Regions from separate parts of the Homo sapiens genome. Here all the other regions are linked to region 5. The links are contacts of gene promoters, found by promoter capture Hi-C in blood cells and fetal thymus (Javierre and others, 2016). All regions are on one chromosome and are shown on one strand. Each heading gives the region's core, a stretch centred on a gene start or on the middle of the fragment in contact. The rest is flanking DNA. Distances are from core to core; before and after follow the strand shown.

Region 1 (4,111 bases), core at 1,463-3,962, 510 kb after region 5:
AATGTTGAATATTGATCCCCACTCTCTTCTGGCTTGTAGGGTTTCTGTAGAGAGATCTGCTGTTAGTCTGATGGGCTTCCCTTTGTAGGTCACCTTACCTTTCTCTCTGGCTGCCCTTAATATTTTTTCCTTTCTTTCAACCTTGGAGAATCTGACAATTATGTGTCTTGGGGTTGCTCTTCTTGAGGAGTATCTTGGTAGTGTTCTCTGTATTTCCTGAATTTGAACGTTGGCCCATCTTGCTAGATTGGGGAAGTTCCCCTGGATAATATCCTGAAGTGTGTTTTCTGACTGGGTTCCATTCTCCCCGTTACTTTCAGGTACACCAATCAATTATAGGTTTGGTCTTTTCACATAGTTCCATATTTTTTGGAGGCTTTGTTTATTCCTTTTCATTCTTTTTTTCTCTAATCTTGGCTTCACACCTTATTTTAGTAAGTTGATCTTCAGTCTCTGATATCCTTTCTTCTACTTGATCAATTCAGCTATTGATACTTGTGTATGCTTTACAAAGATCTCGTGCTGTGTTTTTCAGCTCCATCAGGTCATTTATTTTCCTCTCTAAACTGGTTATTCTAGTTAACAGTTCCTGTAATCTTTTATCAAGGTTCTTGGCTTTCTTGCATTGGGTTAGAACATGCTCCTTCAGCTCAGAGGAGTTTGTTATTACCCGCCTTCCGAAGCCTACTTCTGTCAATTCGTCAATCTCATTCTCCATCCAGTTTTGTGCCCTTCCTGGAGAGGATTTGCGATCATTTGGAGGAGTAGAGGCATTCTGGTTTTTGGAATTTTCAGTGTTTTTGCCTTGGTTTTTCCTCATCTTCATGGATTTATCTACCTTTGATCTTTGAGGATGATGATTTTTGGATGGGGTTTTTGTGTGGGGGTCCTTGATGTTAATGTTGATGTTGATGCTGTGGCTTTGTTTGTTAGTTTTTCTTCTAACCATCAGGCCCCTCTTCTGTAGGTCTGTCTGCTGCAGTTTGCTGGAGGTCCACTCCAGACCTCTTTGCCGGGGTATCACCAGTAGACGCTGCAGAACAGCAAAGATTGCTGCCTGCTCCTTCCTCTGAAAGCTTCATTCCAGAGTGGCACTGGCCTGATGCTGGGCTGATTCACTTCTAATGAATAGAATACAGCAGGAATGAAGTATGTGATTTCTAAGATTAGATTATCAAAAGGCTGAGGCTTCTGTGCTGGGCACTTTCTCTCCCTATGTCAAATCACTCATCATTGCAGAAGCTAGCTGCCATGTTGCAGGCTGCTCTATGGGAAGACCCATGTGGCCAGGAACTAAGGGAGACTTATGGCCAATAGTAAGTGATAAAATTAGGCCTTCAATCCAACATCGTATAAAGAGCTGAATCCTGACAGCAACCACGTAAGTGAGCTTGGAAGCAGATTCTTTTCCTGTCGAGCATTCAGATGAGACTACAGCTCTCATTTATTGACTTCAACTTCATGAAAGATCTTCATTCAGAATCATTAGCCCTGCTACTCTATATTTCTTGACCCACAGAAAACCAGAGTTAATAAATATTTGTTGTTTCAAGCTGTTAAATTTTGTGGCAGATTGTTTTGGAATAATAGGTTACTCATATGCCAACCTTCATTCATACCTTTCTGAAACTGTAGCAGCAGCAGCAACAAAACCAACAATAGGTCTTATATTCTAGTTCTCTTGGGACGTGGAGGAAACTTCCCAATTAGCTCATTAGCTCAGTTCCTACCTCACTGTCACACCTCTCGAGAGAGTGGTGAGGAGCAGGATACCCGGAAGATGCCTCTCCATCACACTCTCCATGGGTTTTCAGGAGTACTGAGGGGGATAGCAGCAGTTATCACAGTGGAGAGACACTCACTGTTTGGCTTCTTATACTGTGTTGTTACAGGCAAGGTCTTTGTTCTAGCAACAAAACACAAAGTTATAGATGGTAAATATTAACTGAACCAGGATATGGTTAAAAAACTAATTTGTTTACCTTTTGATCTATTGTTTTCATTACTGGATCTTTCCTTTCTCTTTTAATTATTCTATTTCCTACTCCACTGCCCTTCCCCTTCAAAGAAAGGCCCTATGTTCTCCTGAAGGACATTTTATTACCTTATGTGTGTAAGGAAATCATGGCAGTCTATGTTAGGACTATAAGATAAGCATACTTGTGGACCCACGGGAGGAATCAATTTCCAACATGTGTTTAGGGGCTTGGGTATCATCAGTAGACTAAGGACATTAACTGATTTAGATGGTTGTGGAGTTCAACATAGTTGTGAGATGGAGACATCTTGGCTCATGACAGAATGGAGATCTAGCTCTTGGGCTCTTGAAGATGAAGTTGCCCAGTTCTCAATACAGGGAGTTCCTGGTTGTTGGGAGTTAATGTGGTGCTCTTCACCTAGAATTGGGCCATAAGCTAGGAAATCAAGGACTCAAATAAGGTATCTGTGAAGTTTGGGGATAAAAATATATGCATTAAAATGAAGATTGAAATTTAACTACTTTGCATTATCTCAGAAATGTACACAAATTTCTTTGAGGATTTTGATTTTTGTTTCTAGCATTTAGAGCCTACAAAATTTTATTTAATAATATTCATGCTGAGTTTTCAAGTGCTTAATTTACTAGGGTTTAGTTAAGTGTTAACATCTTGATGTACTATAAAATATTTTTTAGATTAAGATATTTTTGACAATCAATATGGAAAAATTTTAGAAATAGAATACATACATAAACTTAAAATAAGATCGAATATTTATAGATATAGACATATGTACTAAGGTATAAACATGCAAAGGAATACTCTATATACACTCAATATAGTAGTTACCTCTGAGAAAGGAGGAAGTAAGGAAGGGGAAAGGATGGAGGTGAATTTCTGACTACATCTATAAATATTACTACTTATAAAAAAAGAGGTAGGAAACAATTATGACAAATATGGCATGGTGAACACGTAGTATCTAATATATAGTTTTATAACTTTTTGAAAATTTAAAATGTTTATAATTGTTATTTTTAATTTTAATTTTAATCATCACATGGATTTTCTAAGTGATCATTTTTATGTTCCTTATTAACTTTTTTCTTTAAAATATATTTCTTTTTGCCCATGACACAGCCCTCAGGAGGTTCTGAGAACATGTGCCCCTCTTCATTAACTTATATTTCAACATGAATATTCTTTATGATCTGTAGCCTTAACCAATGACCTATTATGGACATATATGAAACAAATGTATGAATAAGAATAAAAACCATGTAAAGTGGTATAACAGTCAAAACCACCTTGCTGTGGTAAACTCTCCAAGTGGCTTAGTCATGAGCTGGCGCTTCTGATCTCCACTAACAGACTTGCTCAACTGATATGCACTTGGATGTCTTTAGGTTCCATATTAAAGGAGCAAGGTCAAGAAACGGAGGCCCTTATCTATCTCTTCCATTTCGAAGCCCACAATGGCCTTATGTAGGGAATTATGTCAGTTTTCTGAGAAGATAGTAGTCCTTCATATTCACTTTTTCCCAAGATCTGGAAACACAGATAGTAAGTATTAGAGAGGCTGTACCCTCATGAAGACATAGAGCCTGTTTCCTTGTCTAACATGTTAGGCTTTCTCAGAGGAAAACAGGAAATGAGAAGTTACAGGAAGTGGTGCAGTCACAACACCTGAAACAAGTGCTCAAGGAGGAAAAAGCATTTCTATTCATTTATATATAAACTTGAATCCTATCAGCTGGAACAAAGACTTTGTCCTTCAAAGAAGAGTATGTGAAGCCAGGTGGTAGGTGTCTCTCCCTTTCTAGGACTTTTGCAGTCCCCAAGAGTCCTCCCAGCTCTCCATGTTTACTTGGGAGGAATGGCACAGTCAAGTAGTTGCTGAGTTCAGTTAGGTATATGCTCCCAACCTAGAAAAACAGTGGTAGAGATAGACTAAAGGGTTCTTTATGGGGAGAGAGAGTTAGCGTGGGAAGAGTGAGGGGTGGTAGAAAATGGGAGAAATGATTTTTCAAATACCAGAAATTCCTAGGTCCAGAGAAAGGAGAGCTGGTTTACCTGCACAAAGGGAACACCATCACCCCTACTTTATGAGAATGAGAAAAGGTCCGAGGCCT
Region 2 (4,157 bases), core at 1,603-4,102, 570 kb after region 5:
ATGTCTGTGTTAAAAGAGGAGCACAGAGAGCGGACAATGTTTGCCAAGGAGAGAGATCTCTCGTCGCAGTCATTTCAGGCATCAGCAGAGTGTGTACAGAGTGTGGGGATTGGGCTATAAGGTGTCTGTGCCACTGAGCACAGACAAGGTCTGGCCACTGGGAATGGGGTGGCATGGCCTCCACCTGCCTTCTGCGATGTGTACCTGGACACAGAGTCCAGAAGCAGTAGACCATGCGTGGCTGTGTACACATGTGCATGTGAGTGTGCCCACTTGTCCTGTTGTCTGGGGGTGCACAGCCTGAGACCCCACATGCCTCGTGACTCTGTGTGGTCTCTCTGCTACCTTCCAGGGGCACATTCCTCCATCCTATGCCCAGCTCTTTGGCACCCCTCAGCACTCACTTCTGACCTTACTTTTGCATCACACCTGACATAGTGATGGCTCCCCACAGTCACCTTTCTTTCCAGAGGCCCCTCCCACCCAGAGGAGGAGAAAGAAAGACAGGTAGAAAGGTTGTGTCCCCCATTACCACACAGCGCTCAGACCTGTGCCATTTAGGGGAAGATTTATTTATTTATTTATTTTAAGAAGAGTCTCTCTCTGTTACCCAGGCTGGAGTGCAGTGGCGCAATCCCAGCTCACTGTAACCTCTGCCTCCCAGGTTCAAGCGATTCTCCTCCCTCAGCCTCCCGAGTAGCTGGGGCTACAGGCACCACCCCACGCTCAGCTAATTTTTGTACTTTTGTAGAGATGGGGTTTCACCATGTCGGCCAGGCTGGTCTTGAACTCCTGACCTCAGGTGATCCTCCTGCTTCAGCCTCCCAAAGTGCTGGGATTACAGGTGTGAGCCACTGCACCCGGCCTTGGGGGAAGATTTGAGGAAGTTCTATTTTTCTGGGGCAGAGGGAGCCTGGGAAAGGAAGGCGGTGTGGGTTTTTGTCACTTTTCCTAAAGCATGGGAACTAGATGTTTGTGCAGGGCTGTCCTCAGTGCATGGTGATTCCTGAATTTTAAGGTGGAATCTGGAAGACAAGGAGACTGCTGGAGGTAGTGGTAGGGTGGGAGAGAGGAGACCCTAAAGTCAGGTTCTCATTTTTTTGAATATCCAACAAAATGTGGGGTGCTTCTTAAACTGCAGTGTGCAAACGAATCACTTAGGATGTTGTGAAAGTGCGGCTTCTGATTCAGCAGCAGATCTGGGATGGAACTTGAAAGTCTGCATTTCCTACAAGCTCCCCAGTGATGCCAATATTGATCCATAGCCCACAACTTGAATGGCATTAGTAGATGACGTGATGTTAATGTATTTCCAATGAGTTGGGGGAGCTCCGTGGCTGATAAGCAGATGAGTTCTCCCAACCGCTCCACCTTCCCACAACAAGGAGCTTCCAAAGGACACCAAGGAACATAACCCACAGGAGAGGGTTGTGAGAAAAGTTGCAATGTGGTCATTTGAGGGTCCCTGTATAAGGTTAAGTATGATCAAAGATTTTGTGGCAATTCAAGAGCATTTTAAGCCCTTCTCTAAACAATACTATAATGCAGAAAAGCCAGCCCAAATGCCATTAAAATACCCACCAACAGCTCCCATTACCATCACTACTATCACCTGCTCCCTTCCCTTGCCCCCTGTTGACCCCTGTTGTAAGGGAATTCTTCCTTAGAGGTCCCTGTGAAACACTGTTTTAGGCAGATTCCGTGAGTCCTTTGGTCACAGGGCTGAGAACACACCCAAAGACAGAGCTGGAAGGCTAACTCCTAGCAGTCCAGCTCCCATGTGCTCCTGCCTTTGTAAGAACTTGTGTTTAGGGTGAAGTGACCCCAAAAGGCAATGGACATTTTTCGAATTGCCTGCAGGGCAAACTCTTCTTTAATACTAATTGCAGTGTATTTCCTCCCAGCTGTAACTGATTTCAGAGCTTCCACATCTGTCAGTCATCCCATTTAATCTTTACATCAGACCTGTGAGCCAGGCAAGGAAGGTGTCATTACCTGCTTTTTCTCTTAGAAACTTAGAAAGCTGCGAAGTGCTACGGCTCAGAATGCACAACTCATGTCTCCCTACTCAACCCAGTGCTCTATCTGACCACCCAACTCTGATATGTTTTGCATTTTGCCAGGGAATGAAAATGAAACTTGGAATACCTAACTGATGGCCTGGTATCCTGGGGAGCTGTCTACTCTGGTTTCTAAAAGTTGTATCTCTCTCAACTCCCTTCTTTCTCTAAATTTAAATTAGCCAAGACAAGGTAAAAAGGGTCAGGAAAAATTTGGAAAGAAATTCGTGAGTTATGTCACCTCTATTTTTAGTGTTAATTATAAAGAAGAACCTTCTGAAATATACATGTATTTAGGTTTCTTTGCCTGCTTTTTGCGGGACTCCTGCATCCCTCTAATTCTCTGGCCAAACCTGGGCCAGAGAAGCGAATTGAAGTGACAGCTTCTGACCACTAGAGGGACCCCAGGCACCAGCTACAATTTCTCTGCAGCAGCTAGTGCCTGGAATGGTACCCACCTCTTGGAAAAATTCAGGTCAGGTGCATATCTGGCTAGGAATCCCTTCGTTGTTTGGTCTCCTGAAGAGAAAAGGTATCCTAGCTCTGAATCAGAGGAATTTAGTTCCATAACGCAAGCAAAGAGATTAAAGTCATCACAAGTGAAACCCAGACACCAGAATCAAAGATTATGCATTTTAGTCTAGTTCTTTCACTTAACATATTATCACAGAGTTTCAGAGTCTTCTAGTTCCAAAAATTATGATTAATGGTATCTTGGATTAGATCAAGGACTATTGAAAATCTTCCTCTAGGTGATTCCAATGTATTGCCAATTTGAAAGAAAGCAGCTGGACTGGTCCCAGCTTTAACCCAATTCAGGGAATGCTTTCTGTGACATTTTGATAATTTATTACCGTCAAGCCACAGCTTGGATCCTTTCTGTAGCTATGAACTCATAACTCAAATTGCTTTTACCTTCTTATTTTCTTTCTCTTATTTGCACCAGAGATGAAAATTTTTTTATTTGCATTTCTCTTAAATGCTGTTATCTCATAACAGCATTTGTAATTTATTTGTGTGTTTATGTGTCTAATTACTGCCTTTCACTTTAGTCTCCAAACACCACAAAGGCAAGGCCCACATCTGATATGCTCACCACTGTAAAACAAGAACACAGAGCAGTGCATAACACACGGTCTGCTCATACACATTTCCTTCCTCCCTCCACTTCTTCCCTCCCTCCCTCCAGAATGTGACAGCCATCTCTGTGGCTCAGATTGAATTGTCAAAAGCTCTTCCTAACATTCAGCCAAAACCAGCCTCCCTGTTACTTCTTCTCATTCAGTGTTTCTAATTCTGAAGCTACATACATGCCTAATGCTTTTTGAACAGCACAACTGTTGAGTTAAAGACAACTATATATTTTCTACACATTTCCAGTGTAAATCTCCCCCACCCCTGACCCCCTTGCACCTTTAGTCTCTCCATGTAGAAGTAACATGGTCTCTAGATTGTCAACATTTTGGCCACTAGCTCCCTCTGCCTTGTCTTCACTTTTTTTTTTTTTTTTCCCAGACAAGGTCTCACTCTGTCGCCCAGGCTGGAGTGCAGTGACACGATCACGGCTCACTGCAGCCTCGACCTCCCAGAATCCAGGGATCCTCCCACCTCAGCCCCCTGTGTAGTTGGGACTGCGGGCACACACCGCCATGCCCAGCTAATTTTTGTATTATTTGTGTGTGTGTGTGTGTGTGTGTGTGTGTGTGTGTGTGTGTGTGTGTTTTCAGATGGGGTTTAATCCTGTTGACCAGACTGCTCTGGAACTCCTGGGCTTAAGCAATCTGCCCACCTCAGCCTTCCAGAATGTTACGATTATAAGCGTGGCAGCTGCACCCAGCCTGGCCACCCCCTTTTTAAGAACTCTCATTTGTTAGTGGCCTTTAAACATGCAGTACCCAGAGCCAAGCCCTCTATTCTAACTATGGCCTGTCCAGGGCAGGGGTGGTGCTGTGCACTCCCTCGTCCTGTACACTTTGTCTCTTAATGCAGTTGAGTCTGCATTAGTGTTTTGGCTACCACATGCACTATTGAATCATCTTTAGCTTGTAGCCAAGTGAAACCTCTAAGTCTTTAAAAATTTTTTTTTACAAGAACTTC
Region 3 (4,170 bases), core at 677-3,176, 690 kb after region 5:
CGAGATTGTGCCACTGCACTCCAGCCTGGTGACAGAACAAGACTCCGTCTCTCTCTCTCTCTCTCTCTCTCTGTATATATATATACACATACATATATATGTATATATATATTTTCTAAATAAATAAAATGTTATATACATTCCTCTGTAACTTGCTGATCTTCATTATGTCATAACTGCAGTTCATTTTCACAGCTGTAATGTATTCCAGCACATGAGTATCCATGAATATGCCACAATTTATTTGTCCCTTTGACAGGTTTCCCCGTTTTTTGGCTTTAACAGTGCTGCTAAAAGTCTTGCTGGGACTGGGAGTGCTGTGTCATAAGATGTATGTGTCTTCAAAATTAATAGATAATACAGCATTATGTTCCAAACAAGTTGTATCTCCCTATGCTACCAGCAGTGAATAAGATTTGTTAATCTGTAAGAAATATTAAATCCAATTTTTCTCCCAGAATTCAGTGTGTTCTGGCTACGTCACTGCACTGACCCTCAGGAAATTTAGATGCCTTTTAATATTGTATAGCTGAGAAGGGGAATTGAAGTATCATGCTAGATCTTGTAGAATTATATATATGCTGTCATTAGTACTTCTTTTCCATTAGTGTCATGAAGTTGCGTGTGTTTGTGTATTTGTATGGGTTAATGTGCTTTCAGTATTTTATTTATGCGAAATCAGAATGGTATGGGGTTAAGATTTCAGCCTCTGGAAGTAAAAGTTCTGGGATCAAATTATTTATTTATTTATTTATTTATTTATTTTTATTTATTTATTTTGAGACGGAGCGTCACTCTGTCACCGAGGCTGGAGTGTAGTGGCGCGATCTTGGCTCACTGCAACCTCCGCCTCCTGGGTTCAAGCAATTTTCCTGCCTCAGCCTCCCAAGTAGCTGGGATTACAGGTGCCCACCACCATACTCAGCTAATTTTTTTGTATTTTTAATGGAGATGGGGTTTCACCATGTTGACAAGGGTGGTTTCGAACTCCTGACCTCAATTGATCCGCCCACCTAGGCCTCCCAAAGTTCTAGGATTACAGGCGTGAGCCAGTGTGTCCAGCCCCTGGGATCAAATTTTGACTCCTCTACTTACACCTTTGTAACCTCAGGCAAGTAACCTATCCTCTTTCCTCTGCATCTTGGTTTCTCTGTCTGAACGTAGGTACAATTGTTCCTATTCCCAGAGTTGTGGCTGGGCCTAGAGAATACTTAGGACATGAGGATTCACCTCCTTCTCCACTTCCTGACATGATGTTGCCTATGCTTCCCCACCTCTCCCACCTTACCCTTCACCGTGTTCTTCCTTGTCCTCAGAAAATAAGCTTTAACCTCCTTCAGTCTGATAATGTGGGCCTGGGTCCAGAAGAGGGGCCAGTCTCTAATCTGTGTAATTGCGGAGTATGTTTTTGGAGTTTAACTTATTCATAGTTAGGGCTAAAATTGTTATCTGCTATTACAAACTCCTGCTGCATATATATATTTATAACATTTAGGCCATCTTCTACATATTATGTAGTAACTTAATTGTTTTCAGCTTATGCAACATGGTGAATCATTTCCTGAGTCACTTTGGTGGTTAGTCTCTTAGTTTTGCATGTTCAGATAATATTTTCATGTTTTACTGCTAAAATTGTGAATAGTCATTTATTTAAATGAGTTTATATATTTGTTTCCTACAGCAAATATCAGGAATTAGAATTGTTAGGTTATAATTGCCCTCTTTTTTCAATAATTTTTAATTCATGATAAGATGACTCACCTAAGGATTTCACTTAATTGTTTTTTTCCTTAATTTGAACATTAGAAATAGGACTATGTTTAGGGTGTGTGTGCCCTTGGGCAATCACCCTCTGTTTCCTGTGGCCCTGCTACATTGCTAACTTCAGTGGATACCATTTACTTTCTGTTTTGTGTATCCTTGAGGCCCCTTTCATGCTAGAATATTTTTATAGGTGACAGCAGTTTAAGCATCCACATTCTAAGCAGGCCCTTTTCAATAGAGAGGGACGAAGCCACCATTTTTGCTTTGGCAATTGCTGGTGTGTCAGTGAACACACACACACTCATAACATTTGTTACCACATCCTTTATACATCACCCCCTAAGTTACTCTCCAAATACCTTCCCCCAAGGGCATCCAGAGGGCAGGACTTCAGCTGGCTGCCTTGATTCATCCCATCCTACAGATTGCTGTCAACACAAGAGATGATCAGGATAATGTAACGATTGCACTTTGTAAGTATATAATTTTGTTCATTGTCACCAGTTACATGCTGGCCATCCTCAAGCATATAAGATAGTCTTGTAACTTGTGAATCTTCAGAAATCAGAGGAGTTTCTCCTCCTCTTCACTGCTGACAGTAGTCAAAAGGGACCCAGCCTAGAATAAGTAAAGGGAAAGGCAGAACCTGCCAAAGCACGTCGTGACAAGCATGTCATTGTGGACTGACTCTACCCAGCATTTTTTCAGTGGTTGTAATGCCACACATGGCTTTAAGGTATTAATAGGATTGGACACAAGCTTTTCTGTCTTCTACACTTATAAGACCAAGAATGGCTAAATATAAAAAATGTAACCTTTATCCTATCATTCTCTTTTCTAGCTGTATTATTTGTTACTTTATTAAGTAATGTTTAAAGTTATTTGTATTAATTATTTTTACCATTCTCAGGACCATACAAGCCAATTTCTACAAGACTAGCATTAGGATTGAGGTTTCTCATTTAATGGTGATTCATCTTTCCCACATACAGCCTGCCCCTTCATTCTGATGTTTCCATTTCAGCAAGAGACTGAAAGGGAAAGGAGGTCAATAGGAAGTTACTCAGGAAGAAGAATACCAGGAGGGAGTGATGGTGCTGAACACAAGGGAGCCATTTGAGGTGGAATCTTTGAAACTCAGACACTTTATGCTAATGTGGTAGAGGTTGCTTAGGGAAAGTCTTTAGCATCAATGTAAAAGACAATTTTAACTCAAAGAACGATCAAAAATTATTTCCCTGATGGTTTGCTAGAGTCAAAACATGCCTTACACATGTTTGATGCTGACTCTGACAGAGGGATCTGTGTCTCCAGTTACCATGTCAGGAGACTAGACAAACAGCTCATGGTAAAAAATAAAAGACAAATGAATAACCTCCCAAACACAACCTTGTAGGAAAAATAGTAAGAGTTTTCACCTTAAGGTAAAGTTTTGGACTTGGTCTGAAGTGTCCATAGAAGGCATTTAAATAAACATTTTTATTTAGAGATAGAAACAAAAACAAAAATTGAAAGGCATGGAATTTTAGTGGCGTGATGACAATTACAATGACAAAATTATGAAATGTGAAGCAGTCACACGCTTTCTAGCAGTATGCGAGAGAGACTGATTCATGGACTTTAAATTCATGTATTATTTTTACATTCTGGTATATTTTTGCACTTTATAGTCACATCTTTTTCTGGTGTATGTATCTTTACACTGCATTCCTGCACTTTATTTAAAGTGACAGTATTTGTGAATATGACTGAAGTTAAGAGTTGAATGTTGTCTTATGTTGGGTCCCCAAGAAACAGACTGTTAGATTTGCCTGCAAGAAGTTTATTAGAGGGTGCTCTTGGGAACACCTATAAAGGAGAGAGGGAAACTGGGTTGGGCGGAGGGAGAAGTTAAATTGCAGTGAGGGCTGCAGCCAATCCCCCTGGGAACCCTAGAGCTGGGATGGCCTCTAGTTATGCCTAAGTGAGGCAAGAAGGCTGTGACCTTGAACCTCCTCATAGACCCTAAATCCTTGGCTTCAGGCTTTCTCCATGGAAGGATGCAACCTTGGGGAAGGCAGTTCCCTTCAGCATAGGGCAGTCCTGGAACACAGACTCAGGTGTCAGCTGTAACACTTCTAGCAGCTGGGAAAATAGGCACTTTGGTTGTCTGGTTGAAGGGTCTAGGGTCCAGTTACTGAAAACAAATAGTTACTGAACTAAAAACCGATAGAATAGGTAGGGCAGAGATGAAAGAGCAGTGATTTATGGAAAGCTTAGAAGAATAACTTCGTCGTAGGAAACCATGTGTATATTCTTATGATTGTGTGATTCTGGGACTCAGGGTACATGTTTTGAGTGGCCATTTTTGTTTTGACTGGTACATAATTTAAAGAACTAAGCAGAGTGATCCTGTGTTTGTTTGTT
Region 4 (3,925 bases), core at 1,015-3,514, 540 kb after region 5:
CAACATGGTATCACCATAAAAATAGACACATAAAAAAGAACAGAATAGATAGCCCAAAAAATGAACTCATGAAATTATGGTCAATTAATTTTCAGAAAGGGTCCCAGAATACACAATGGGAAAAGGACAGTCTCTTCAATAAAGGATATTGGGAAAACTGGATATCCACATGTTAAAGAATAAAATTGGACCTTTATCTCATATCATGTACAAAAATTAAGTCAAAATGGATTAAAGACTTAAATGTAAGACCTGAAACTGTAAATCTACTAGATGAAAACATAGGTTAAAAACTATATGATATATGTCTAGGCAATGATTTTTTAGATATGACCCCAAAAGCTCAGGCAACAAAACCAAAAATAGACAAATGGAATTACATCAAACTAAAAAGTTTCTGCACAGCAAAGAAAGCAATTAACAAAGTGAAGAAGCAACCTATGGAATGAAAGAAAATGTTTGTAAACTATGTATATGATAAGGGGTTAAAATTTAAAATATATAAGGAACTCAAACAACTCAGTAGAAAACAAATAACCATATTAAAATGGGCACTGAACCTGAAATAGACATTTTCAAAAGAACTCATAGAAACGGCCAACAGATACATGAAGAACTGCTCAATATTTCCAATTATTGGAGAAATTCATATTAAAACGACAATAAGATATCACCTCAATCCTCTCAGAATGGCTATTTTTAAAATGACAAAGGATGATAAATGTTGATGAGGATGTGGAGAAAAGGGAACCCTAGCATGCTGTTGATGGGAAAGTTAACTAATACAGCCATTATGGAAAACAGTATGAAAGTTCCTCAAAAAACTAAAAATAGAGTTAACATATGATCCAGTAGTCCCACTTCTGGTTATACATCCAAAGGATTTGAAATCAGTATGTTGTGGAGATATCTGCACTCCCATGTTTATTGCAGCATTATTCACAATAGCCAAGTTATGACTATTGTGTCAGTTAAGTGCCCATCAACTGATGAATGAGTAAAAAAGATACACACACACACACACACACACACAGTGGAATATTATTTTGCCTTTAAAAAGAGGGAAATTATCATTCACGGCAACATAGATGAACCTGGAGGACATTATGCCACGTGAAATAAGCCAGGCACAGACAGATAAATACTACATGTTCTACTTACATGTGAAATCTAAAAGGTCAAACACATAGCATCAAAGAGCAGAATGGTGGTCACCAGAGGCTGGGAAATGAGGGAAAAGGGGAGACGTTGGTCGAAGGGGACAATGTTGCAGTTACACAGGAGGAATAAATAAGTATTTGAGGTGATGAATATGTTAATTAGCTTGATTCAATCATTCCACATTACATACATATATCATCGCATCACTTTGTACCACATAAATATATACAAGTATAATTTATCAATATCCAATATAAATGAATTTTTTAAAAAGTTGTAATGAGTGCTCCCTGTATGCTCAGCCTTCAGCAGGGCTTTGGAAATAAAGGAAGCAAAATTTCTTGCACAGAGAATTCATAGCCAAGGAAGACAAGTTAAGAAATAATTATGGGAACACATAGAAGAAGTATTTAATCCAGCCTAGGGGGTCAAGAAAATCTTCTTGTAGGAAGTAACACCCAAAATGAGAAGTAAATGAAAAGGAAGACTTTACCAGCAGGGTGATTGTGGCAAGTCTTTGTTACAGGCAAAAGGGATAATATGCACAAGGGCCTAGAGGGATACCATAGTGTTAGGAAAACCAAAAATAGTTTGGTATAAGTAGAGTGTAGAGTACAGGATGATGGGCAGCAGGAAGGAGCTTGTGGAAATACAGAAATATAATGCCTTCAAGATAAGCAGGGTCCAGCTTATAAAGACAATTTAATTATGCCAATAAGTATGAACTTTACCCTAAGTGCTCCTGGAGGGAAGACACTGGAGGCTTTCAACTATAGAAATGATGTGATCCAATTGGTATTTTAGAAATATCACTCTTTGAACAGTTGGAAGAAGAGGAATAACCCTTGATCCAAAGAGGCTTGTTATTGAGCTATTCCACCAATCCAAGTAAGAGCTATAAAAGAAGAGATGTGAACAGAAAAGAGGGAGAAATACTTAGGAAGTAGAATTGCTCAGGCTTAGGACTGATTATGTTAGGCTGGTGCAAAAGTACTTGCAGTAATTGAAAAAAACCACAATTGCTTTTGCACCAACCTAATATCTGTAGGTGAGAGGTGACTGGACAGCCTTTTGATGCTGCATTTGCATCAGCACCACCCTTACCTGGGCCAATTGGTTGTGCTCAGGGTGAGGGTCATGGGTTCAAAACACAGCAGCAGAGGAGCTCTTCAGTAGAACACATTGGCTGTGCCAATCTGAATAGCCCCTGACTCTGGTTCCAGAGGGTGAGCAGGAAGCAGAAGACTACAGGAATAAATGTCTGCAGACACTTCTCTGCATCGAGAACAAGGGAGGACTTTCATGAGGGCCAGTAAGAGTCTTCTTGAGGATGGAAGGGGTAGCAGGATAGATGCATGGTCCCCAGAAGATTCTTGCCTTTCCTCAAGATGGTGTGGATAAGTGGGAAAGATCTATTGTTCCCCAAAGTGATCTTGTCTGCCATAAGTGTTCCTTTAAGGGGAGCCACTTGGTAAGCTGAGGCAATTAGCTTTCCTGTCACCCATATCCTAATCTCTAGCAGCTCTCTGGGAGGAAATGAGTCACACTGCAATCTCAGACAAGGGCATCCGGCATCCTAACACTCAGGTAAGCACCCCTCCTCCCAGTGGTTATTCCCCCTGGGCTAGCCCATGAAAGTTGTTTTTCAGATCTACAAGAGTACCTCTATTTTACCTTTATTCATTCTTCTGTGAAAGGAAGGTTTCACTCTGAATAAAGCTATGCTATCCATCTAATTATTGTGTGATTCTGAATGAATACAACACCCACTAGCAGCAGCCATGCTGTTATGCTTAGGTCCTGATGGGTCACAAGCCTATATTCTTGTGATTATGAAACCATTTCTGGTGAAACCGAGAAAAAAAAGTGAATACTGCTATTTAAAACAGCAGCTGCCTTCTAAAGGGGACTGGGGGACGGATCTTGTTAAAAATAGTCTTGGGGACTCTGCTGGTCTTTTCTGCTGCAATGTTGACTTCACCTTAATGGATTTTGGTGCAACCACTATGGGCCTGGAACGGAGTTTTGGAGTAGGGACTAGAGAGAGCTCTGCTCTGTATTATAGTATGGGAAGAATTCAGAGCCCATAAGAGTGAGGGCGGATATGGCAGAGAAATGAGTGAGAACGAGATGGGAAGAAAGATAGGAAGGAAAAGGAGCTTGAAACAGGGAAAAGCCTTTGCAATCCATTAGGTGCCACAAAGGAACTACTTTTCAAGGCAGTGTGGCTACAATAACCTAGGGCAGGGACGACCAACATGCAAATCATCTTTTCAAACTTGTAGTAAAGTCTGATGGATGCCACATGTGAGAAATTGGAAGCAGAAAAAATGCAGTCTCCACACCAAGGTGAACACATGAATGGGGACGTATGTTTTGGACTTGAAGCAGTCTAGAAACTCAACTAATGCAGCAGGAGCAAGAGGCAAGTATGAGAATATAAACCTCTGAGCATTCAAAGAAAGTATGGGCAGGCATTGGCCTTCCAGTAAGTTGTGAAATTGGGGTTTCGTAAAGAATGGTTACTCCAGCTAAACACTGAGATGTACTAGCAATGACTGCTCCTAACATGTGTGAGTTACTGGGAAGTACAAATTGAGTATATTTGTATCAATATACAATATAAGTCAAGTGAAAAAAATTGGTAGATAAAATATGTTCTAAAATCTTAGGCAAATATATCTTCATAATATCAAAACTTAAAATATGGATAAAGTTATGGTTTTGATATGACTGAAAGTTGTCAAAACATCAAAGATGTCTG
Region 5 (4,069 bases), core at 1,520-4,019:
GATTGGCAAGACTTCAGCTGATATCTCTTGTTTAAGGTTGAGTTGGACAGGGATGAACTGGGTGGTTAGTGGTGGAAGGGGGAAAGCAGCAGAAAGGAGGACCAGTTGGCTAGGCCTGTCTCTGGTCTATGATACAAAAGATGAGATCTACAGGGGAACCCTTGACTCCCCACTCTTCTATGTCTCCACTGGAACTGGAATGCATGTCTACAATAGCATCCATTGTCTGTGGTGGACTCTATCTGTGCCCATCTTCTCCAGCAGGCTGAGCTCCTGAGAGCAGGAATTATGTCTCATTCCACTGTGCGGCCTCCAGATCTAACAGAACTCATACAGGTACGTACAGGAACTCACATATTTTATGGTGAATTTCTATCTTATTCAGCCTGCTATTGCAGAAAAGACCACAGGCAGACCTACAGTAAAGAGTCCATTGGGCGGATATATGCCATTCTTCCCATTTCTCATAAGTCAAAAGTGTAGTGGTGCTGGCAAAACAGGGCCCAACAAGGGGGCAGAATGGGGTCCAATAGGGGATAACTGGAGATAACATCTGAGAAACATGGCCAAGATTTAGAGCCCTGGAACTCTTCATTTAATTGTTAAATATCTGCTCTGCATAACTGCCTAGATTGGCTCTGTTCTCAGGTCCTTTGGCCTGAGGTTGTGGGGCAGCAGAATGAGCCAGAGAGCCCAGATGAGCTGAGCAGCACCTGAGGTTGGTAAGAGGTGACCAGCCCTGTGGAGGTGGAGATGGTGGTTATCTGTGAGTGTGACATCCAGGCTGTCTCTACCCCCAGATAAACAAGGGTGACACGTGTGCAGCAGGTGGGCCTACACGGAGGGGCCTCCTGGCCTGTGAGCATCAGAGACCTGGGAATGCCAGGAGGCCAGGCTATTCTGGACCTGAATCCTTTTCATTGACTAGCTCCCCCAGAAAACACATCAAATATTGTCAGGGAACAGATACATAGCATTTCAGCATCTTCAAGGGATTGAAGACGTGTGTTGCTGTTCTGGCCCATCCTTCCACTTTCTAGAAGTGTTGAAGATGGGCCTCTCTGAGCTTTGCCCACCTCATCCAAAGAACAGAGATGGCCCATCTGTCTTTCCTGTATCACAGGGCTACAGTGAGGCTGAAGTAAGTTAATGTGTGGGAATGCTTTATAAAGTACCATGCAACGTGCCCTGGTTCGTAAAACTCATTTATTCAACAAAGCAGTACAAGCCTCCCCTTCAATCAGGACCTGCCTGCAGGGGTGGGCTACTTCAGTGTCTTCAGCCAATGGGAGCTAGAGGGTTTAATACTTTAGTCCACTTCCCTTCATCTCTGGCCCCATCGACAACATGGGGAAGGGGAGTGAGGGCCTGGTAGAAGGGTACTAAGGCCCCTTATTTCGTTCGCTGGTAGAACTGGAAGACTGCTTTCTCCTGCTCATAGGTCTCGATGGAGCCGGGTCGTAGTCGTCGGATTTCAGCAATGGCATCTCCTGCAGCCAAGCCCCGCTCCTTCACCAGGTAACAGGCCAGCATGGTGCCAGTGCGGCCAAAGCCCAGAGCACAGTGCACTCCCACAGCCTACGAAGAGGGGGCTCGATGGGTGCCACTCAACTCCCCCACCCACAACTGTTTCCTGCCCCTCACTTGGTTCTCCCCACAGCTCCTTCTTCTGTGCCAGGTCCAGGGCTCTGCAGCAAAGTCAGGGAGGGCTGTCCCTGCACTAGGTGGCTAGGAGGCCTCTGCACTGGCTGGTTCAAGAGCTGTCCACCTCTACACAGCCCTCCACCTGTGGTGTTCAATACAGAAGACAGTAGCCACGGCTACTGTGGCTACTGTACTCGAAATGTGGCTAGTCCAAACTGAGATGTAGTGTGAAAAACGCAACAGGGTATGAAGAGGTAGTAGAAAAAAGAATGAAAATATCTCATTAAGATCACCAAAGTTAATTTTATCTGCTTCCCTGCTTTTTAAGAATGCCGTTGCTAGAAAAATTAACATTACATGGAGCCACTTAGGTTCCATTATATTTGGACAGCTTTACTCTAGAAAATGGTAAACAGCCTCCACCTGACTTCAACCCCCACCTCTCCCAGGTGTCTGTCCACACCCTTCTCCTTCACAACTCACAGTATTAGCTGGTTTTCACTGCCTCTCCTCAAGCCCAGTTCGCACTGCTTCGCCCTCTCTTTAGTTCCTTCCGTTTAGCGCTTCCCTCCCCCGCACTGGCTTCCCAGTCTCCCGGCCCTACTGTCTGCCTCCCCGAGCCCAGTTAAGTTATCCCAGGCCCGGTCTCCCCAGCTCCGCCCGTGTCCCCCGCTGACCTTCCAGGCCCCTCCCTCCCTGCGCTGACCCCGCCCGCTGACCTCTCCCCGTGCGTTGGCCTCGTCCACGATCTGCACGAAGCGGTCGATCTGGTCGGGGGCCGGCGGGCAGAAGTCGGGGATGCGCAGGCGGTGCAGGGTGAGGCCGGGGCAGCTGTCGCTGTGAGGGGGCCCGCGCTCCGTCAGGGACACCAGGTGCCGCACGCCCAGGTCCAACAGGAACTGGTAGTGGGCGGGGAGCCGCGGCAGCGCCAGTCCCGCCAGCCGGCCCGGAAGCACCCAGGAGAAGTTGGGGGGCTGCACGCCCATCGCTGGGAAAGGGCACAGGACAGCGGGTCATGGGGGCCGAGGCTGGCCAGCCCCGCTCCGCCCACGCGTCCCCTCGCCCGCTCCGAGCCAAGTAACTCACCACCTACCTGGCCTCGGCGCCTCCCGGGCCACGTGGTCTGCAGGGCGCCGCCCTCGGGTCGCTCTGCCCAGCCGCGGGGATTGGCCCAGAACCTGGGGCGGGGCTGGAACGCGGAACCCAGTCTCTGAGCGACCGAGGGAAGCGCCGCGATCCCGCCCCGTCCGAGCAGATCACGCGGTGATTGGCTGGATCATCATAATGGGCGGGGGGTTACTTCCACGGGGTTCAACCCACTCAGCTAAGAAGGAAGACCTGGAGCGAGTTAGGAATTGTTTGCTGCGGATGGAACAACCCGGGGTCGGGCTCTGCTGCACCCTGGCGGCATGTTGCAGTCATTGCGTCACTGGCGCCTGCCCCTGCCTCCTCGCGGGCCGGCCTAGTTCTACCTCCTTCACGCTGGATGCCCTGGGGTTTAAGAGATGACAAATCGGCTTTCTCCCAGGACGAGGAGTCTCCTCTCTAATGATTGACTGGTCGTTATCAGCGACTTTTTGAACTGTTCCAGTAAGAGGGAATTACTGCTGCAAGGAGGCTATTCTCATTTTTTCATTGCTGGAACTATTAAAAACTTACCCAGGGTAATAATTATAGTAATAATAATAACCAGCACCAACTTCTCCTGTCAATCCAGTTGCTCCTCAGGACTTATTGAGCATTTATTATGTGCTAGATAGTCTTCTAAGCACTTAGCACATACTGACTCATTTAATTGCCACAGTAATCTTATAAGATAGGTGATCTAGTGAATCCCATTTTATGGATGAAAAAACAGAGGCACTGGAGAGGTTAATAAACTTGACCAAAGGATGATGACTAATGCCTCCAAAATCTTTAATAATATCGCCATTTCCTAAAGTTAAATGGAACATTGTTTTCTCTTCACATAACCCCCTCATGTCCCCAAATATTATCTGGGTTAAACGCTTGTGGGTTTTCTTAATTTTTATTAGTATTTCATATTTCTTCATTTTTCAAGGTTTCCTAGTTCTCTGGGTCACTGTCCCCTGGGCAGGCTAGAGTTGATTAGTGTTGTTCTTACTAGGTGGGGGCCCCTAGATCTGAACACCGTTTCCACTGTCATCTGACCAGTCCATATCCTCATTTGAATAATGTGCTTCTAGCGATGCAGACTAACTGTAATTATGAAAATAGTTAACCCTTATTGAATTTGTTTATGTACCAGGCCCTGTGCCAAGCGCTTTCTGGAAGAACCACATGTGAAAGGTATTTTTGTATCTTTTTTTGTACATGAATCATTGGAAGCTTAAAGAAGTTGGTTAACTTGGCCAAGGACACAGTGATCCAAGCCCAGGGCACTTGGCCATGAGGATGTATTATA
Region 6 (3,855 bases), core at 83-2,582, 650 kb after region 5:
CTGAACAAGCTTCTTAGCTTGGGTCTGCATACTTCCAAACTCTGCCTCTGTCTTTACCTGGCCATCTTTTCTGTGTCTCAGATCTCTCTCTGCATTTCTCTGTAAGGATGCCTGCCATTGGATTCCAGGCCCGCCCTAAATCTACAATGATCTCATCTCAAGATCCTTACATTAATTACATCTGCAAGATGCTTTTTACAAATGAGGTCACATTCATAGGTTTTAAATGTTAAAACCTGGGCATGTCTTTTTGGGGTCCACTGTTCAATCCACTGCAGTTAGGAGATTGGATGAGTTTCTGACAAGTGGACTTGATAATTTCTGTGAGGTAACAATGTGGGTTATTTGCTGAGAATGTGTCCCAATGTAGAGGGATCAAACATATAAGGGGAGTGAAGAAATCTTGAAGTATCATTATTAAAATATGAAGAGTGAGCTGACTAGGAAATGTAGTTTGTGGAGCAGTGTGGAGAACCAGATGAAGTTTATTGTCATGAATTTATAGTTGTGTGATTTTCCCTAGCAATGATTAGCAGCCCGGGTGCAAACACTGAGGAAGCTGAGAGTTAAAGTATCTAGATCCTGGAAAGAGGGGGTGTGGGAGGGAAGGAAGGACAAAGGCAGAGGGGGTTAGGATACTGGCAAGTGGCTTTCCATGGAAGGCCATAGAGGTGAAGAAGTCGGATAGAGGACTACTGGCTTGGTCAAAAGCAGTCAAAAGAGTGGGAGTAACTGAGTGAACTCGCTATAACGATACTAGGCCATTCTCCAAGTACAGAATATTTATTACTTTAAACACACAAAAAAATCTGGATTAGTGGTTGCAGTAAAGGCAAATAGAAGTTTAATGGAGATAGAAAACTCAAAGGAAAGAGAGGACGGGATTCTGGACAGGCCACTCGTGTAACCCCAGAGTCATGCAGAAAAATGGCAGGGCTTGGGGTGGTGTGTGTGTGTGTGTGTGTGTGTGTGTGTAAGCCTTGGCACATAAGATGACAATTTATAACAAAGCAATTATTTTATTGTGGGTTTATGATACATTTTTTATTATCACACTCCTATCACCATATCTGGCAACTATTTTATACTAAGCACTGTGCTGAGAGATGGGGAGGTTGCAATAAACAAGACATACAAAGTCCTGACTCTCCAGAGGCATGTGTTCTACTAGGAGAGACTGACAAAAAGAAAAGAAACAGAAACAAGTAAACAAAGTTGTTGCAGTTTGTAATGAGTTTGTTATGAAGGGAACAGATTAAGAGATTGCAGCAGAGACTGATGGGCAGACTAACTTTGGTTAAGATGAAAAAGAAGGCACTTTCAGTTGGTGACATGAGAAGTAGGGAGATGAATACTCCAGGGAAAGGGCTGCTACAACAAAGTGCCACAGACCTGGTGGTTTATAAACAACAGAAATTTATTTCTCACAGTTCTGGAGGCTATGAGAAATCCAGCCTTGGGAAGTCCAAGGTCAAGGCAGATACAGTGTGTGGTGAGGGCCCACTTGCTGACCCATAGATGGCTATGTCCTCATGTGGTGGAAACAAGGAACAAACTTCCTTGTCCCTCTTTCATAAGAGCACTTATGAAATCCCATTAGGGATCCCATTAAGGATCCCAACAGGGAATAGTTTTGCTGCGTCATAGATTACATTTCTGATCAGCTTCACCAAGGTATTCTTTCTTGCTTCCCAAAGTGATACTATCCATTTTAGATTGTGTTTTCATTACTGATAATACCAGAGACTTTGCCTCCCAATGGCCCCATGCCATCACATTGGGATTGGGATTTCAACATAGGAATTTTGTGGGGACACAGACATTCAGACCATAACACTAGTCAGGGCCGACACTGATCTGTTACTTGACTCAAGATAGTGTGGCGTGAGAGCAGAGGCGACCCTAAGGGCCCCGTGCACATTTGGGTTACATTAATTTTTTATTGTGAAATAAATTATACATACCCTAGGGTATATGGAATGTATATGAACCATTTAGAAAGTATAATCACAATAATAAAATAAACACTCAGGATCCTACCAGTCAGCTTAAAATGAGAACATCACTAGTTCTTTGAAGACTCTCGGGTGAACCTCATCAATTGCATTCTTTCTCAGTCCCTAGGGGTAGGTAACCAATCATCCCCTGGCTTGTTTATAGTTTTATTTCACATATAGCTATCCCCAAATAATATATTACTTTGTTTTGCTTTTTAAACTTTATGTAAGTGGAAACATATTCTTATATGAGTTGTTTTTGGCCCCTTTACCATTGTGTTTTGAGGTTTGTCCATGTTCTTGAATATACAACAGTTTATGTTCATTAATGGATAATGCTCCATGGTGTGAGTATAACACAATGTATTAATGCATTCTGCCTTTGATGGACATGCAGTTTTTTTCCAGGTTTTTTGTCTATTATAAACAATGCTGTTGGAATAATCTTATATCTCCTAGAGCAAGCAATTTCAGATTATACACTTGGGAATTGGATTGCTGAGTCATAGTTTATATTCCTGTTCGGTTTCACCAGGGTATGCTTTCTTGCTTTCCAAAGTAATTCTATCAATTTTTTTTTTTTTTTTTTTGAGACGTAGTCTCGCTCTGTCACCCAGGCTGGAGTGCAGTGGTGCCATTTCGGCTCACTGCAAGCTTCGCCTCCCAGGTTCACGCCATTCTCCTGCCTCAGCCTCTCGAGTAGCTGGGACTACAGGCACCCGCCACCATACCCAGCTAATTTTTTTTGTATTTTTAGTAGAGACAGGGTTTCACCGTGTTAGCCAGGATGGTCTCGATCTCCTGACCTCGTGATCCGCCCCCCTCAGCCTCCCAAAGTGCTGGGATTACAGGCGTGAACCACCGTGCCCGGCCTATTCTATCAATTTTAGATTACATTTTCATAACTGATAATACCAGAGACTTTGCAAACTGGAGGAAGAGATATTACCTGGTAACTACCTATAGCAGTGGCCACAGTGCAGGAAATGGGTGGAGACTCCCAGGCCAGTGGCAGTTTAGTCTTGCATTTTCCTTCGTCCTTCCCTGACTTCCATTCTCAGACAGGAAATAGCTCTCATCACATGAATGTGTTCAGAAGGCTTTTGAGAAGCTGAGAATGTCAGAAAACAAGAGATTCAAGTTAGAGGCAGAAATGAAGGAACATTCCTTTGCACACAGCTTTCGAGGGTCTAGAATGGCCATCAAGCAATAGATTGGAGTGGACTGACTTGCAAATGTTTTGCTCAGAATTCCTGGCCCTAGAATGGAAGTGTTTTTTGTAGCCATGAATTCTTATAGTCACAGTAGGAGTGACTGTGAGAACTGCATGTTTTCTAATCTCTTGTCCACAAAGGTCATGGAAATCTGGATGTAACTCTACCTGAAATTCTGATGCCTTGACACACAGGCCGACCTTACCCCTGCATTTCCTGGAGTAAGCACTTTTTACTTAAACACCTTCCTCTCTCCTCTTTTTCTCTAAAGGGTCAGCCATGAACCATTCACATTAGAAAAACAGCCTCTAATCTTCACAAAATCCATGAAAAGTAGATATTATTCCCACATTAGAAATGGGAAAACTAAGGCTCAGAGAAGTGAGTAACTTGGACAAAATTTCATAGCTTCTAAGTAGCAGATTTGACAGTCAAAGCCACATCTGTCTAAATTCATCTGTTCTCTCTCTCTCTGGCTTTCCGTGGCCCTCTAATTCTTTGTATTGTCATTTATAACCATGTGGCGCTTAACAAGTGACTTACCCTGTCTCAGCTTTAGATTAAAATATAACAGTTCACGTAGGCTCAATAAATGTTTATTTAAAAATGAAAATCACTATATGGACTTACATTCTAGTAGGAGA
Region 7 (3,775 bases), core at 838-3,337, 710 kb after region 5:
TAGTAGATAGGAACTGTTACAACAGCCTGTGACAATGAAGACAGATTGCAAACTTCCTACTTAGGCACAGATGAGAATGTAACACAGAAGAAACTGGCCGCAACTGGTTAAAGCCAAGATGGTCGAAAACTTGGCTGACTGCTGACCCTTAGCTTCATTATGCCCTTAATATCATAAAACTTCCATGGGGAAATTCCCACTCCCATCATGCACCTGACGCCATGACAGTTCCGGATTAACCATCTTTAGTCAAGAAAAGGGTGGCACCCCGATTCCGGGAATTGCCCGCCCATTTCCCAGAAAACCCCTCCCCTTGATTACAGAGTACTCCATACCTTCATTGTGCTTATTCATATAGTACGTGAACCACATTGCCTGTGACTCAAATCTTTGAGTGCCTGCACTCCTCCCTTGAGGGTGTCGTTGGTTTTGCTCCACAATAAAATGTCTATACTTTCGCTTGGGTCTCATTTTCAGATTCTCTTATGCTTTGAAGACAAGAACCTGCACTGCCCTACTGGCAACACTTTTAGATACCCTCTGAGATCAGTGTGCTTGTTTATACCAGAAAAATGTCATCACCAGGCCCCTTAGTCACAAAGTGTATCAAGAAGTCATCTGCGGTCATTTTTTACAGTTTCTAGGCCACTTTCTGTTTCCAATCAGTGTAGTTCCTATGTGGCATGACTCAGATACAAGTTTCTATAGACATTTTCTTCTGTGGCTGCTAGTGAGAACCCAAACCAGCTCAGCCAATTAGAGCTCCAGTTGTCACTCCTACCCACACTGGGCCTGGGGGTGAAGGGAAGTGTTTATTAGGGGTACATGTGAAGCCGTCCAGAAGTGTCAGAGTCTTTGTAGCTTTGAAAGTCACCTAGGTTATTTGGGCATGCTCTCCTGAGTCCTCTGCTAGTTAAGCTCTCTGAAAAGAAGGTGGCAGACCCGGTTTGCTGATCGCCCCAGGGATCAGGAGGTAAGCACCATAGAGGAGCTGGGTTAGAGACGAGAGACTTAACCGTTTCTCTGCTGAAAAAGACAACTGAGGAAAGGCCAGCCATGCTGTGCACACCTCTGAGAACCTGAACCTGCAAACATGGACATCAGCTCTGAAAGGATGGGTTCATTTCTCTTTTATTCACTTTAGCCATGTCCTCTGGTGTCTCTGAGCTGGTGTTCCTTAAGCTTCGGCTTCCTTTGGGGTTTGTCTATCAGCCTATTTGTAAGGCTGACTTTTATGCCAATAGCAAATACAAGCATTTTTTAAGTTAACAGATATTATGAAGTAAAATGCAAGTTTTTCATTTATAAGGCAACATAACTTCAGAGAAAAAACTGAGTCAATCACATAAAATGTGATTAAAATGTGATTGTTATTATATAAGAGGGTTATAGGAAGATTAGCTTCTTATGGACAAGTAGAAAAGTAGGAATCATCCAAGCTGATTGTCACAGTAGATATTCAACAAAGGTAGTGTCCTTCCTTGCTTTCATCAGTAGGATGGGGGCATTTGGATGGCTTTATCATTGCAAATATTTTTAATGTATTCCTTATTTTGAAAATGGTCCTGATAATAGTTTTAATTTTCACTCATGAACTCTACATGTATAAGTAGAGTTTCTCCAGCGCTTACCAACATATAGGAAAAAACATTATAAGGCCATTAACAGTGATAGTTTAGAATTTATTAACATTGACTCTACTGATGGGGGTATTCAAGCTTCCCTAAAATTCACAATCAGTTATTTTCAGCTCATAAACATCTTTTCCTGTTCTTTGGCTTATTTCTTCCACTTTATATGTTGCTGCTCTGGAAGTCATTAATTGCTAATAATGTCAAACATCTTTTTTATGTTTATTGGATATTTGAGCAAATTGCTCATTCACATCTTTTGCACACTTTTCAAATAGACTGTTGTTTTCTTATTGATACATGGTTCTCCATGTATTCCAAAAGCAAAACCTCTATTAGCTCTCTCTCTCTCTCTCTCTCTCTATATATATATATATAGCAGGTATAGCCATATATATATGTGTGTGTGTGTGTGTGTGTGTGTGTGTGTGTGTGTGTGTATTGCAGGTATCTGCCCAGTTTTTGCCTTGTATAATCACTTTGTTTAGTGTGTGTGTGTGCACGGATGTGTGTGTTTCCTACAAAGAAATTGAGAATATGCATGCAATCACATTTGACAAATTTTTTTTTTCTGGCTTGTCCTTTTTGTGCCTTATTTAAGGAACCTCCTTCTACTTCAATGTATTGAGAAATTCTGTGTTTTATTCAACATCATTACTATTCTATTTAGATAATTAATCCAACCAGATATATATTTTGTGTATGATATAAGAGAAAGGCTGAATATATCATTCCCTGTGTATTGTCATTTGTCTGAACACTTTTTATAGTTGGCCATTCTTTCCTTGTGATTTTTAATGCCACTTTGATTATATACCAAGCTTTAATTTACATGTGGTCCTGTTTCCACACTCTATTTATTAGTTCATTTTTTTCTACGCCACTGCCATACTGATTTAATAATTATACATTTGTAGTAAGTATTGATACCTAGTAGTAGGGATAGTACATCCTGATAAACATATTCAACTTGTTTTGCAGGTTTTTGTCTTTATTTTTTTCATTTAGGTTTTAGGATCATTCTGATAAATTCTATGAAAAACCCTTTGAGATTTTGGATAGGAGTTTATAGATTAATTTGACAACACTGCTGTCTTCATTTTATCAAATCTTCCCATTTAAAATATCAGACATACACCCACTTAAGTAGGTCCTTTAAATCTCCCAATAAAGTTTTATAAGTTTCCCTTTAAAACTCTTAAATATATTGTATTCGATGTTCTTATGTACTTTGTAGTTTTGTTGCTATTGGAAATTACTTTTTTTATGTAATTTTTTTCTCTCTTGGAGTGGTACTAAAATAAAGGAATGCATTTCTGTATATTAATCTTATAGTTATAAACTGTTGAATTATTATTTATAATGTTTTGTGTATTATTTTGGATACTATACATAAACAACTATATTACTACAACGTGATTTTGGCAACAAGTTACAAAAATAGGTTGATGGACAGAATAAAGAATCCAGAAATAGACTCACTCATATTTGGACAACTGATTTTTGCAAAGGTAAAAAAAAAAATCATTAAAAATGACAGTCTTTTTAACATATGATTCTGGGAAAATTCATATTCATATGAAAAATAAATGAACTTTGAATCATCACTTATATCATATACAAATTAACTCAAAGCAGTACATACAGCCAAATGTGAAATGATCAAACCGTAAAATTCTTACAGGAAGACATAAAATCTTCTAATCTTGAGATTGGAAAAGATTTCTTAAATAAGACACTGAAAGCATGATCCATGAAAGAACAGATTGATTAATTGCACTTCATCAGGTATATGTATATGCCAAAATTTATCAGATTGTATACTTCCAGTGTATGCACCGTGTTGTATGCCAGTTATGCCTCGATAAATCTATTTTAAAAATAACAGGAAAATGTATCCTGTTTCCTTTTTGTTGTTGTTGTTGTTGTTGTTTTGAGATGAAGTTTCGCTCCTGTTGCCCAGGCTGGAGTGCAATGGCGCGATCTTGGCTCACTGCAACCTCCACCTCCCAGGTTCAAATAATTCTCCTGCCTCAGCCTCCTGAGTAGTTGGGATTACAGGCGCCCACCACCATGCTCGGCTAATTTTTGTACTTTTAGTAGAGATGGGGTTTTGCCATATTGGCCAGTCTGGTCTCAAACTC

What was found. The method cuts DNA at HindIII sites, captures the fragments that hold promoters and counts their contacts. A CHiCAGO score of 5 or more calls a contact.
Region 1: a contact is called between a fragment that was not itself captured here and the fragment with the promoter of DUSP23 in region 5, in 6 of 17 cell types (M2 macrophages, megakaryocytes, endothelial precursors and 3 more). The highest score is 14.2, in M2 macrophages.
Region 2: a fragment that was not itself captured here is called in contact with the fragment with the promoter of DUSP23 in region 5 in 8 of 17 cell types (M2 macrophages, endothelial precursors, megakaryocytes and 5 more); the score reaches 36.2 in M2 macrophages.
Region 3: a contact is called between a fragment that was not itself captured here and the fragment with the promoter of DUSP23 in region 5, in 5 of 17 cell types (megakaryocytes, endothelial precursors, M2 macrophages and 2 more). The highest score is 6.7, in megakaryocytes.
Region 4: a contact is called between a fragment that was not itself captured here and the fragment with the promoter of DUSP23 in region 5, in 5 of 17 cell types (endothelial precursors, M2 macrophages, erythroblasts and 2 more). The highest score is 14.0, in endothelial precursors.
Region 6: a contact is called between a fragment that was not itself captured here and the fragment with the promoter of DUSP23 in region 5, in 5 of 17 cell types (M2 macrophages, endothelial precursors, M0 macrophages and 2 more). The highest score is 11.5, in M2 macrophages.
Region 7: a fragment that was not itself captured here is called in contact with the fragment with the promoter of DUSP23 in region 5 in 1 of 17 cell types (total CD8 T cells); the score reaches 5.4 in total CD8 T cells.

Annotation. Positions count from the first base shown.
Region 1 is chr1:159,266,304-159,270,414 of GRCh38, reverse strand. No RefSeq gene overlaps it. Among named protein-coding and RNA genes, the nearest start is that of FCER1A, 34 kb to the left of the region's middle. The HindIII fragment of the contact is 3,267 bases long and covers 1,079-4,111 here.
Region 2 is chr1:159,212,647-159,216,803 of GRCh38, reverse strand. No RefSeq gene overlaps it. Among named protein-coding and RNA genes, the nearest start is that of ACKR1, 9.8 kb to the right of the region's middle. The HindIII fragment of the contact is 6,582 bases long and covers 1-4,157 here.
Region 3 is chr1:159,089,636-159,093,805 of GRCh38, reverse strand. It overlaps a transcript of AIM2 not described here. Among named protein-coding and RNA genes, the nearest start is that of AIM2, 15 kb to the right of the region's middle. The HindIII fragment of the contact is 1,199 bases long and covers 1,327-2,525 here.
Region 4 is chr1:159,238,814-159,242,738 of GRCh38, reverse strand. No RefSeq gene overlaps it. Among named protein-coding and RNA genes, the nearest start is that of ACKR1, 36 kb to the right of the region's middle. The HindIII fragment of the contact is 6,426 bases long and covers 1-3,925 here.
Region 5 is chr1:159,779,662-159,783,730 of GRCh38, reverse strand. DUSP23 (dual specificity phosphatase 23) reads right to left here and starts at 2,769. Exons shown (of 2, transcript NM_001319658.2): 1 at 2,364-2,769; 2 at 1,188-1,578. The coding sequence starts at 2,630. The coding sequence ends at 1,393. RefSeq lists an enhancer at 1,877-2,453 and a silencer at 2,445-2,834. The HindIII fragment of the contact is 4,062 bases long and covers 1-3,995 here.
Region 6 is chr1:159,125,381-159,129,235 of GRCh38, reverse strand. It overlaps a transcript of AIM2 not described here. Among named protein-coding and RNA genes, the nearest start is that of TRR-TCT4-1, 14 kb to the left of the region's middle. The HindIII fragment of the contact is 2,642 bases long and covers 12-2,653 here.
Region 7 is chr1:159,073,831-159,077,605 of GRCh38, reverse strand. AIM2 (absent in melanoma 2) reads left to right here and starts at 840. Exons shown (of 6, transcript NM_004833.3): 1 at 840-973. RefSeq lists an enhancer at 99-398. The HindIII fragment of the contact is 734 bases long and covers 1,721-2,454 here.